Linked DNA regions of Homo sapiens: region 1 is linked to region 2. Evidence: promoter capture Hi-C in human tissues and cell types (Jung and others, 2019). All regions are on one chromosome and are shown on one strand. Each heading gives the region's core, a stretch centred on a gene start or on the middle of the fragment in contact. The rest is flanking DNA. Distances are from core to core; before and after follow the strand shown. Region 1 overlaps CABYR (calcium binding tyrosine phosphorylation regulated). Region 2 holds the start of OSBPL1A (oxysterol binding protein like 1A).

What was found. Contacts are between HindIII fragments. The study calls those that stand out against the background at their distance.
Region 1: a fragment that was not itself captured here is called in contact with the fragment with the promoter of OSBPL1A in region 2 in 1 of the 25 tissues and cell types used here (dorsolateral prefrontal cortex).

The regions. Positions count from the first base shown.
Region 1 is chr18:24,147,328-24,152,862 of GRCh38, reverse strand. The region is part of intron 3 of CABYR (calcium binding tyrosine phosphorylation regulated); the gene reads right to left. Among named protein-coding and RNA genes, the nearest start is that of CABYR, 11 kb to the right of the region's middle. The HindIII fragment of the contact is 3,580 bases long and covers 906-4,485 here.
Region 2 is chr18:24,396,574-24,402,108 of GRCh38, reverse strand. OSBPL1A (oxysterol binding protein like 1A) reads left to right here and starts at 4,285. Exons shown (of 28, transcript NM_080597.4): 1 at 4,285-4,454. LOC124904268 (a long non-coding RNA gene) reads right to left here. Exons shown (of 3, transcript XR_007066314.1): 3 at 1-1,009. RefSeq lists a silencer at 4,222-4,351. The HindIII fragment of the contact is 24,691 bases long and covers 1-5,535 here.

The DNA.
Region 1 (5,535 bases), core at 1,446-3,945, 250 kb after region 2:
CCCATTAGGTCTTAAATTCTCCAACCACTGATTTACTTACCATGAGCGTTTATCAAGAATGCAGCCAATCTAGGGATTGGATTACTGCAATCCCTAGACTGCCTGCACGGGACCTGACAGGTTGCTTGTGGTATGACTTAGGCAACTCTGGAAAGGACCACTTGCTCTTTTAATTAAAAGTGTCTCCCTCACAGGTTCATGGTACCTGAAATTACGTCTAGAAGATTAAAATGTAATTAATTTTTTAAATGTTAAAAAAGCTCAATATTTTTGTCTCTGGAAGTCCCCTGCTAAACAAAAACATCCCTTATAACCACCATTCTGGAAAGGTAAAGCATTTATAATTATGAATCCTTAACAATTTACCAGGGAATGTATGATATTGTTTTCTTCCCTGCAACTTTCTCATAGTAAAAAAGTTAATGAGAAAACCTAGGTTCTAGTCCTGGTTCTGAGATTTAATAGCTGCATGACCAAGTCAACTGTTCCAAGCTTCAGGCCTCCTCACTTGCAAAATGGGGATTATAACTCTGACTTCATGGAGTTTCTGTGGACACTAAGTGAAATAATGCATCTGAAAGCACTGAATAAACTCTAAATCACATATAAATGGGGAAGGAGTGAATCAGTACCCATTTAAAAAGTGATACAGAAAAGTTTTGAAAATGTGATATCAAATTAAAAATATAAATCTCAAATATCTTTAATTCAGCTTTGATTAAAATTAAATTGGCTATTTCCTAAACTGGGTGGTAAAATACAGGATGTTTTTTCTTTATATGTGTGTGTTATATACTTATGGACTTTTTCATAATTAAAAACTGAGACCAGATGCCTTAAACTTTTATAGTGTTTTTGCAAATGCAAACACTAGGTCAGGCACGATGGCTCATGCGTATAATCCCAGCACTTTGGGAGGCTGAGGCAGGCAGATCACTTGAGGCCAGGAGTTCGAGACCAGCCCAGCCAACATAGTGAAATTCTGTCTCTACTAAAAATACAAAAATAAGCCAGACACAGTGGCACATGCCTGTAATCCCAGGTACTCAGGAAGCTGAGGCAGGAGAATTGCTTGAGCCCGGGAGGTAGAGGTTGCAGTGAGCTGAGATTGTGCCACTGCACTCCAGCTTGGGCAACAAAGCTAGACTCTGTCTTTAAAAAAAAAAAAAAAAAAAGCCAACACTAGATCAACCATTTGGCTTTGTTTGGAATACATGAAAGAATGCTGGCAAATATATACTTACTAGTTACTATACACATATAATGTAAATCTATATTGAGTTCATGTCATTATCTGTTTATTAAGAAGGGTAAAAAGCTTTTCTCTAATGTTTTAAGGTTAGCTTTAAATACTTACAACAGTCGCTGACTTGTAACCTTGAGATTATGTCGGTTGTATAAGACAGAATTTCTTCAAGTTGCAAACTAGGTTTGCTAAAGGTTGATCTTTCAACCTTATGAAGATTAACCCACTATGACTTTGGTGATCTGGTTCTACTTAAGCTGACAAAACTATACACACTGAGAATTAGGAACATAACTAAAGGCATTCCTTCTTGTAAAAAAGTTCCTTTTTAAGTATAATAAAATGACTCAAATTGGCTAACTTTAAAATTCATTGCAGAATCCTGATTTTCCATGAAACCAGTAAGATAAAGAGATAAATTCCAAGCATATGGTATTTTTTTAAATAGGCACAACTCATGGAGATTCAGGGTACTGAAGTACATAACTGCCCAAGAAGCATAAGGAAAAGGACATATTCTGGCATGGAATGGGAAATCTGAAAGGTATCAAAGACCACAAGTGTATAAGCAGCAGGGCCTAACAAGAGATACGAGAGGCTGTATAAGAATTGGAGGTGGGCCATCCTGGCTAACACGGTGAAACCCTGTCTCTACTAAAAATACAAAAAATTAGCCGGGCGTGGTGGCGGGCGCCTGTAGTCCCAGCTATTCGGGAGGCTGAGGCAGGAGAATGGCGTGAACCCGGGAGGCGGAGCTTGCAGTGAGCTGAGATCTCACTACTGCACTCCAGCCTGGGGCCAGAGTGAGACTCCGTCTCAAAAAAAAAAAAAAACAAAAAACAAAAAAACAAAAAAACTGGAGGTGGGAGGTGGGAAGCTCAAAGAGAGTGCTTAAAGTCAGGAATATGTATGGTACGTAATCTTTTAAGAATTTAAAACAAAAGATTCCAACTAGTCTGTATTGAACTGATTGGAATGAGAATACCAGAGACTATAAAGTAGGTGGTTTAGTTTCTCCCCTCTTCCTCCTTGCCCTTCCATCCATTCTTTCTTCATTCAACAAACATTAGTTGCACCATCTATCAAAGAGGAATAAGACTTCCTAAAGATCTCATTCTGATTAAGGATACAGGCAGATGATTGATTATATGACAATGTAGTCAGCACAGTGACTGAAATATGTATGGGGTACAGTGGCTTTTAGGTAATTTTGGTTAAGCTTTAGAAATAAGGAAAACGTGTGAAAGTGGCTAGTAATTTGGACTGTAGGAGGTGGAAAGCAAAAGAGGGCATGGCCAGTTTGAGGGAGAACAGCCATTCAGCCTATCCTAGGTAATCTCTCCCACGCCATGCCCCTTTGCCTTGCTTCTCCTCTTGGTTCTCCAGCACTGCCATCAAACTTCTCTGGGCCACAGTGAGCAACACCAAATGCAGTTTGGCATCTCTTTGGCTTTGTCCTTCCCTCTTCTCTTCCGGGTCTATTTCTGTCTCCCTCACCCCATTGAGAAGTGACAGCGTGCTGCAGTCCTCAGAGCCCTTGCTCGCTCTTGGCGCCTCCTCTGCCTGGGCTCCCACTTTGGCGGCACTTGAGCCCTTCAGCCCACCGCTGCACTGTGGGAGCCCCTTTCTGGGCTGGCCAAGGCCAGAGCCGGCTCCCTCAGCTTGCAGGCAGGTGTGGAGGGAGAGGCGCCAGCGGGAACCGGGGCTGCGCGCCGCGCTTGCGGGCCAGCTGGAGTTCCGAGTGGGCATGGGCTTGGCGGGCCCCGCATTCCGAGCAGCGGGCCGGCCCTGCCAGCCCCGGGCAATGAGGGGCTTAGCACCCAGGCCAGTGGCTGCATAGGGTGTACTGGGTCCCCCAGCAGTGCCAGCCCACCGGCGCTGTGCTTGATTTCTCGCCGGGCCTTAGCTGCCTTCCTGCGGGGCAGGGCTCGGGACCTGCAGCCCGCCATGCCTGAGCCTCCCACCCACTCCGTGGACTCCTGTGCGGCCCGAGCCTCCCCGATGAGCACCGCCCCCTGCTCCACAGCACCCAGTCCCATCGACCACCCAAGGGCTGAGGAGTGCAGGCGCACGGCACCAGGACTGGCAGGCAGCTCCACCTGCAGTCCCCAGTGCAGGATCCACTGGGTGAAGCCAGCTGGACTCCTGAGTCTGGTGGGGACGTGGAGAACCTTTATGTCTAGCCCAGGGATTGTAAGTACACCAATCGGCACTCTCTATCTAGCTCAAGGTTTGTAAACACCAATCAGCACCCTGTGTCTAGCTCAGGGTCTGTGAATGCACCAATCAACACTCTGTATCTAGATACTCTGGTGGGGCCGTAGAGAACCTTTATGTCTAGCTCAGGGATTGTAAATACACCAATCGGCACTCTGTATCTAGCTCAAGGTTTGTAAACGCACCAATCAGCACCCTGTGTCTAGCTCAGGGTTTGTGAATGCACCAATCGACACTCTGTATCTAGCTACTCTGGTGGGGCCTTGGAGAACCTTTGTGTCCACACTCTGTATCTATCTAATCTGGTGGGGACATGGAGAACCTTTATGTCTAGCTCAGGGATTGTAAACGCACCAATCAGCACCCTGTCAAAACAGACTACTCCGCTCTACCAATCAGCAGGATGTGGGTGGGGCCAGATAAGACAATAAAAGCAGGCTGTTCGAGCCAGCAGTGGCAACCCGCTCAAGTCCCCTTCCACACTGTGGAAGCTTTGTTTTTCCTCTTTGCAATAAATTTTGCCACTGCTCACTCTTTGGGTCCACACTGCTTTTATGAGCTGTAACACTCACCTCGAAGGTCTGCAGCTTCACTCCTGAAGCCAGCAAGACCACGAGCCCACCGGGAGGAACAAACAACTCCAGACGTGCTGCCTTAAGAGCTGTAACACTCACCATGAAGGTCTGCAGCTTCACTCCTGAGCCAGCGAGACCACGAACCCACCAGAAGGAAGAAACTCCGAACACATCCGAACGTCAGAAGGAGCAAACTCCAGACGTGCCACCTTAGGAGCTGTAACTCACCGTGAGGGTCCGCGGCTTCATTCTTAAAGTCAGTGAGACCAAGAACCCACCAATTCCAGACACACCATCACTCCCAACACATCCTCCCTCCCCACATTTTTACCAAACCTCATCTCTCCCAACTTCACTTAAGGGCAAAGAATTAAAGCAGGGTGGGTGGAATAGCAGACATTCCCTCCCTTATTCTTCGCTAAGATAATCTTAGCTAGATTAGTGGCAGCAATGTACCCAGCCCCAGGTGATAAACCACTAATGGCACACTGGTTCTCAAGGGGTAGTAGTATCCCCCTTCCACTGAGAGTATTCGTAGATGTAGAGGGGACATTTTTATTTATTTCAATACCTGGGAGGCATTAGTATTTTAGGAGGCAGGATCAGGGATGCTAGATGTCCTGCAATGCATGGGACAATTCTGATCTCCCTTACCATAAATTGTATCAGCCTCCTTTGGCCTGTGGGACAGAAGCGGAAATCTGCTGGAAAACTTGCAAAAGTGTTCCTTTCTTAATCAAAGGAACAAATGTCACCACTGCCACCACTTTCTCCTCCTTCCTGATGTAAACACAGGCATAACACCTGGAGCAGTAGCATGAGGGGACATGTAAAACATCCTAAGAATGACACAGCAGAGTGCCTAGATATGTGATACTTATTATTAAATTATATTAGGAGCAGAATGAACACCTTTTCAGATATGTTGTTTTCTTAAAGTTACTCTTAATTGATTTGCTGTTACTTGCAGCTGAAAGCTTTCCTAACTGATATGAGGCATAAATTAGAAGTCGTAAAGAAACATGACAGAGGGGGATTGTGTTAAATGCTGCTCTTTAGATACCATATCTGTTTTTTATTCTATGACATCCATAATACCCATTTTCTCTCTGGGTACTTGTTGAATTCATTATCTTAAGATTTACAGCTACTAGATAATGTATCTGTACTTTTTTAAACCTTCTGCCCATAAACATCTGGGCTGTGTCCCATATACCCTCTCCTCTATAGAATAAAGCTGATTAAAAAGAAGTGGATTATTTTCGATTTCCTACATCATAGTCATGTCATCTGTGAATAGTTTTATTTCTTAATATGCCTTTCCTTTTTTAAAAAAATTTGTTTGCCTTATGGCACTGATTAGAACCTACAGTACAAAGCTAAATAGAAATCGTAACATTGGAGATCTTTGTCCTGGTCCCAATCTTGAGGGGAAGGCATTCAATATTCACCATTGGGTACAATGGGTCAATTGGATCATCTGTAAGTTTTTGTGTG
Region 2 (5,535 bases), core at 3,036-5,535:
AAGCGGAATATATTCTTTTTTGTTTGTTTGTTTGTTTGTTTTTTGAGGCAGGGTCTCTGTCTCCCAGGCTGAAGTGCAGTGATGTGATCTCAGTTCACTGCAGCCTCCACCTGCCAGGTTCAAGTGATCCTCCCACCTCAGCCTCCTCAGTAGCTGGGACTACAGGCCACACCACCATGCCTGGCTAATTTTTGTTTTGTAGAGACAGAGTTTCTCCATGTTGACCAGGCTAAGCAGGGTATATTCATGATGAATAAAGAAAGGCCAGGTGAGGTGGTTCATGCCTGTAATCCCAGCACTTTGGGAGGCCAAGGTGGGCAGATTGCTCAAACCAGAGTTTGAGACCACCCTGGGCAACATAGTGTGACCCTGTCTCTATAAAAAATAAACAAAAGTTAGCTGGGCATGGTGGCTCGCGCCAGTAGTCCCAGCTACTTGGGAGGCTGAGGTGGGAGAACTGCTTGAGCCTGAGAGGTTGAGGCTGCAGTGAGCCATGATCATGCCACTGTACTCTAGCCTGGGTGACAGAGCAAGACCCTCGTCTCAAAAATAAAAAAAATAAAGAAAAAAAAAAAGAAAAAGCAAGCTAAGGGCTAAAGGTTGAGTTGAAAATGTTGCCCAAGGAGAACATACCTTATGGGAAAAGCTATGAAAGACTATCTCTCAACTTTGCTTCTTCTGAAGAAAGACAAAAGGATAGGAAAATGAAAATAATTGGAACATATTCTTTCCCAGTGTTGGCACTGAGGAAAAACTATAGACTATTCCTACTACCCACATCCCCAGGAGTGCCCTAATCCGGCCTTTGCCAAGCCAGATTTCCAGCTGTTTCTTTGATGTCTGAGTGATATATTCTTTATTTGCTTAAGTTAGCCAGCACCAGTGCTTGCTGCTTACAACCAAGAAACTCTACAGAAGACATAAGGGTCTCTTCCAAACTTTTTGTGTGGGGAACCAGCAAAATCAATCACTGCTGGAAGGCAGTTGCTTAGACATCTGTGTGTCATACCTGCAGGAAAAGAGAGATGGGTACAAAATTAAGTCTAGACCAAAAGAATTTAATATCTGAAACTATACCAATTCATTCCTGTTATTAAATAAACTGAGTGAAATGGCACAAATGACAAATAACAAATTTAGACCACTTTTAAGAGAGAAAAACTCCCAATGACCTCATAGCTTTGATGGTCTGGAGTTAATAGTAACTACAAAGTCTTTCATATGTAGGTATAAGGGAATGATTCATTTCCCTCAACTCAATGGTTTATCTGCATTCGCCTGATGACATCTGACCTACTTTTCAGTATTCCAGGCAGTAATTACCCAAAGCCCTCCCCAAAGTCTCAGTCCATAAAATCCTCCTTTTAATGAGACTTAAGCCTTTAGCGTGTTCCTGCACCACTTCAAAGTCACACTGGCACCAGGGGAGTGTTTTTAAAACATGCAATGCACTAAGTGCATTCTGGGATGTCTCAGGCTTGAGACAAAACTGCAAGGACCAGACATTAGGTACTACAATCTAAAGAGGATCACATTCTGAAGGAGGTCATTGGAATGCGGGGAGGGGGATGACAGTAGAGAGATTTGGGCTCCTAAGTTTCCTGAAACAAAAGAGTCCAAGGTGAATCCAGTCTGAACCAGGCAATGAACAATTCTGATGAAGCCCATCCCAGTCTTAAGTTACCCGGTTCACTTTTCAATGTGGGTCAGGCAGGCCCGGGAATGGCAGGGCCAGGGGTTAGATACTCCCAAATCCATTTCACAACCAGTCAGAGCTTCCATTGCAATTCCTACTTATATATGTAGGGATTATATTACTAGTTACTTTAATATGCCGCATCTGCAAAGTTAAAATATCTATCTGCCTAAAGCTCAGAAAGGAATATGAAGGAAAATATTTATTAACTAGTTCCAGAGGTTCTACTTCTGCCAAATGTTTCTTAAAATAGAGTATGATATGACGGGGACAATCTAGTGATAGTTTTGTTATTCTAGAACTGCACTGCCCAATATGGTAACTGCTATCCACATGTGGCTATTTAAATTAAATAAAACTTGAAACCGTCAGTCACACTGGCCACATTTCAAGTACTCAATAGCCACATGTGGCTAGTGGCTACTGTACTGGACAAGGTAGAATTATAGAACATTTCTATCATCGCAGAAAGTTCCATTAGACACAGTGTTCTAGAATAATGAATTCTGTTATGCCATCATGGTGATTTTACCTGTACTAGCCGTCAATAATATAAATGCCCATGAGATATCTTTTCTGCATATTTTATGGAAATACCAAATAAAGTCCTTTAAAGATACAGTATAAATAGTAATGCTATCAAGATTGGAACTTCTCTTATTGATAACTGTAGTGATTACTACTTCATCCTCCTATTGACTGCAATCTGTTTTTCATTTGCAAACTGTAGAAGGGAGTTGCAAAGTGCAAGTTGTGAATTTAGGTAATTAAATCATCACAGAGAGAATGAAGGCTTTCATGGAATCATGGAAAATTATTTCAGTAGCCAATTATTATTGTCATTATTTCGGTAGTTTTATTTTGGCTATGAAGATGGTTCAAGGCTGGGTGTGGTGGCTCACACCTATAATCCCAGCACCTTGGGAGGCTGAAGTGGGTGGATCACCTGAGATCAGGAGTTTGAGATCAGACTGACAAACATAGTGAAACCCTATCTCTACTAAAAATACAAAAGTTAGCCGGGTATGGTGGCACGCACCTATAGTCCCAGCTACTTAGGAGGCTGAGGCAGGAGAATCGCTTGAACCTCGGAGGCAGAGGTTGCAGTGAGCTGAGATTGCACCACTGCACAAGAGTAAAACTCCATCTCAAAAAAAAAAAAAAAGATGGTTCAATATCCTTAGATAGTAAGCCCTGAGGTTTCTTCTTTTCCAGACAAATACAGCTGCTTTAGTTACCACACATTTTGCAGTTGAAGTATTGTGCTAGTAAAGTGCCTGCTTTGTTAATAAAAGATGATGCCAGCCTGAGATACACCAGCAGGATTGCTTGTGGTATCCAAAAACATCATTTCAAAAGATCTGCCATATGCTGTTTCACACATATCACAATGACCAAAAGGGCCTATTATAGGTTCTCAATACATGCTTCTAGACTTGATGGAAAAACTACAGTCCTTTTAAAAATGATACCTATTTATTACTTTTTCATTGCAAAAGAACATGTTCATTAAATACATTTAGAAAATTCAGGAAAGCAGAAATCAGTTTTCGTATGCTCGTAATTTCCTGTCTTTTTAGTTATGCAGAAATGCTTTTAAAAAGCAAAGCTGTGGCCTGCAGGGGTGACTCACGCCTGTAATCCCAACACTTTGGGAGGCCCAGGAGTTGGAGACCAGCCTGGGCAACATAGGGAGAGTCTGTCTCTACTAAAAATACAAAACTTGTCCGGGCGCGGCAGGGCGCGCCTGTAGTCCCAGTCCCTTGATTACCCGCCTGTAGTCCAGCTGAGGCCGGAGGATCGCTTGAACCCAGAAGACGATGCTGCAGTGAGCCGAGATCGCGCCACTACACTCCAGCTTGGGAGACAGAGTGAGACCTTGCCTCAAAAAAAGAAAAAAACAAAAACGGTGGAATTATACTAGAGTTTGAACCTTCACGTTATAGACTATTTGCTAACTCCTCTAGCTAGACGCCTTGTGCATGGAATCTGGAGGAGAGGAGGTGAGGAAATTTTGTAAATCCTTGTCTCACGCATATCTATTCTATAATGGTTACACCTGTATGGCATTTTAAGCGCTTCCTTTCACAGGTGAAAGTAAAAGGAGGTGTTTTTTTGTAAATTGTCTAATTTACATTGCCAATTAAGTTCCCACGGGTCGAGTTGCAGCCAAAGCAAAAAAGAAAAAAATCTGGGCAGCTGGATAACCTATTGCTTAATGACAGACTTCAGACTATTAACCCAGGACTTATATTTTGCCTGGGGACGCGAGTCTTCCACTGGCTCACACGGGCGGTTCCTTGTAGTCTCCGGGTAAGGCCTGCCACTTCTTCCCTCGGGGTGTGGTGGGAGGAGCGCGAAGGCTTTACGCGTCCCTAGTAGCTGGCAAAACCTGGAACCAGCGCCGGTGGCCCAGGCGGGACAGGAGCGGGCCGGGGGCGTGGGCAGGCCAGGCAGGGGCGGGGAGTGGGCGGGGAACGGGCGTGTCCCCGCTGCGGTCACGTGTCGGGAGGGATGCCAGCTCGCCAGGAGGATGCGCGTTCCAGGGGCGGGCTGCGGGGAGGGGCGGCGCCACCTCGCGCTCCGCCGTGGTCCCGGCGCCGGGTCCCGGAGACAGACGTTACGCGGGCTCGAGCGTCCTCGGGGAGTGCCAGCCAGAGTTGGTGACGACCACTTCCTCGACGTGGGGCGGGCGGACGGGAAGCCTGGGGTCGTGGCCACCGCCTCGGGAGCTCTGGGAGCCCGGGTGACCGCGTAGGTCAGTTTCTCGCGGCTGTCCACGCCTGGAGTTCGAGGCCGGTTCCCGCGCTGACGGGTTCCCGCCGGGCTGCGCTCGGGAGGTCTGTCCGCGCCTGGTTGGGGGTGGGCGCTCCCGTCCCGGGCGTCTCAGAGGATGGTCGGGTCGTGGCGCGGCGACGCAGGGCTGCAGCCGAGCTCGGCTTCCCGGCGGCCGCTGGCTGCTCCAGCGCTGCAGGAAGTTAGGCGTTAAAAGTAACAAGATGTTGGCGTTTGTTGCACTTCCCACTCGGGTGCCACGACCATGCTGGTGCCGCATGCATCCCCTACCAGATCTTCAGCTGCGTGCCTTCTCGGTACTTTCGTGTGTCCATGTGACTTTTTAATTTCCTCCTAACAAGAGGAGGATTGATGCACAATGGAAGTCACGCATTGTTCATGTGACCGTTTCCCAATGTACCGCGTGGTCGGTTCTACAAGCATGAACGAATATCCAAGGGAGATTCTGAAACTGAATGAGAGCGCAGCTGCACAATAGACTTTAACAATTCACTTATCCCGCTGCCCTAATGATTGGCAGGAGGCATTGAAAAGGGTTATTCTGATTTAGTATTAGTTTTCAGTTCAAGTTGTCGTTTTTAGGCAGACGGTATTGTGAAATGGAACTGTGGGCAGTGTGATATTCTTAGCTTAAATAAGGTTGCTTGAATGTTGCAAATGTGGCTATTAGGTGTCTGTGAATAGTTAATAATATAATTAAATCAGCTTTAAAATCGGTGATGTGTTTTCCCTGAAAACTTCAGTCTTTGCCCTGTAATAGGTGCATTCTGGATTTGGAGTTTGGAACCTCCTCACCTCTTTACTCAGCATCTGGGAAATAATTTGCAGATTCGTTTTGAGGGGTAGAAGTATTTGCAGTCTAACCCCGATACAATGAATTTTTTGCAGCAGTTTGATAGGTATAAATTCTGAACCACCCCCCTCCCTCCCCACCCCAAGCTGGAATTGTGAAGATTTCTTAATTACAGCATAGTAACAAAATCCACCTTTTAATTCCCTAATTCTAAACCACTAGGTGGGCTTTGTCTACAGTTTATAGGGGG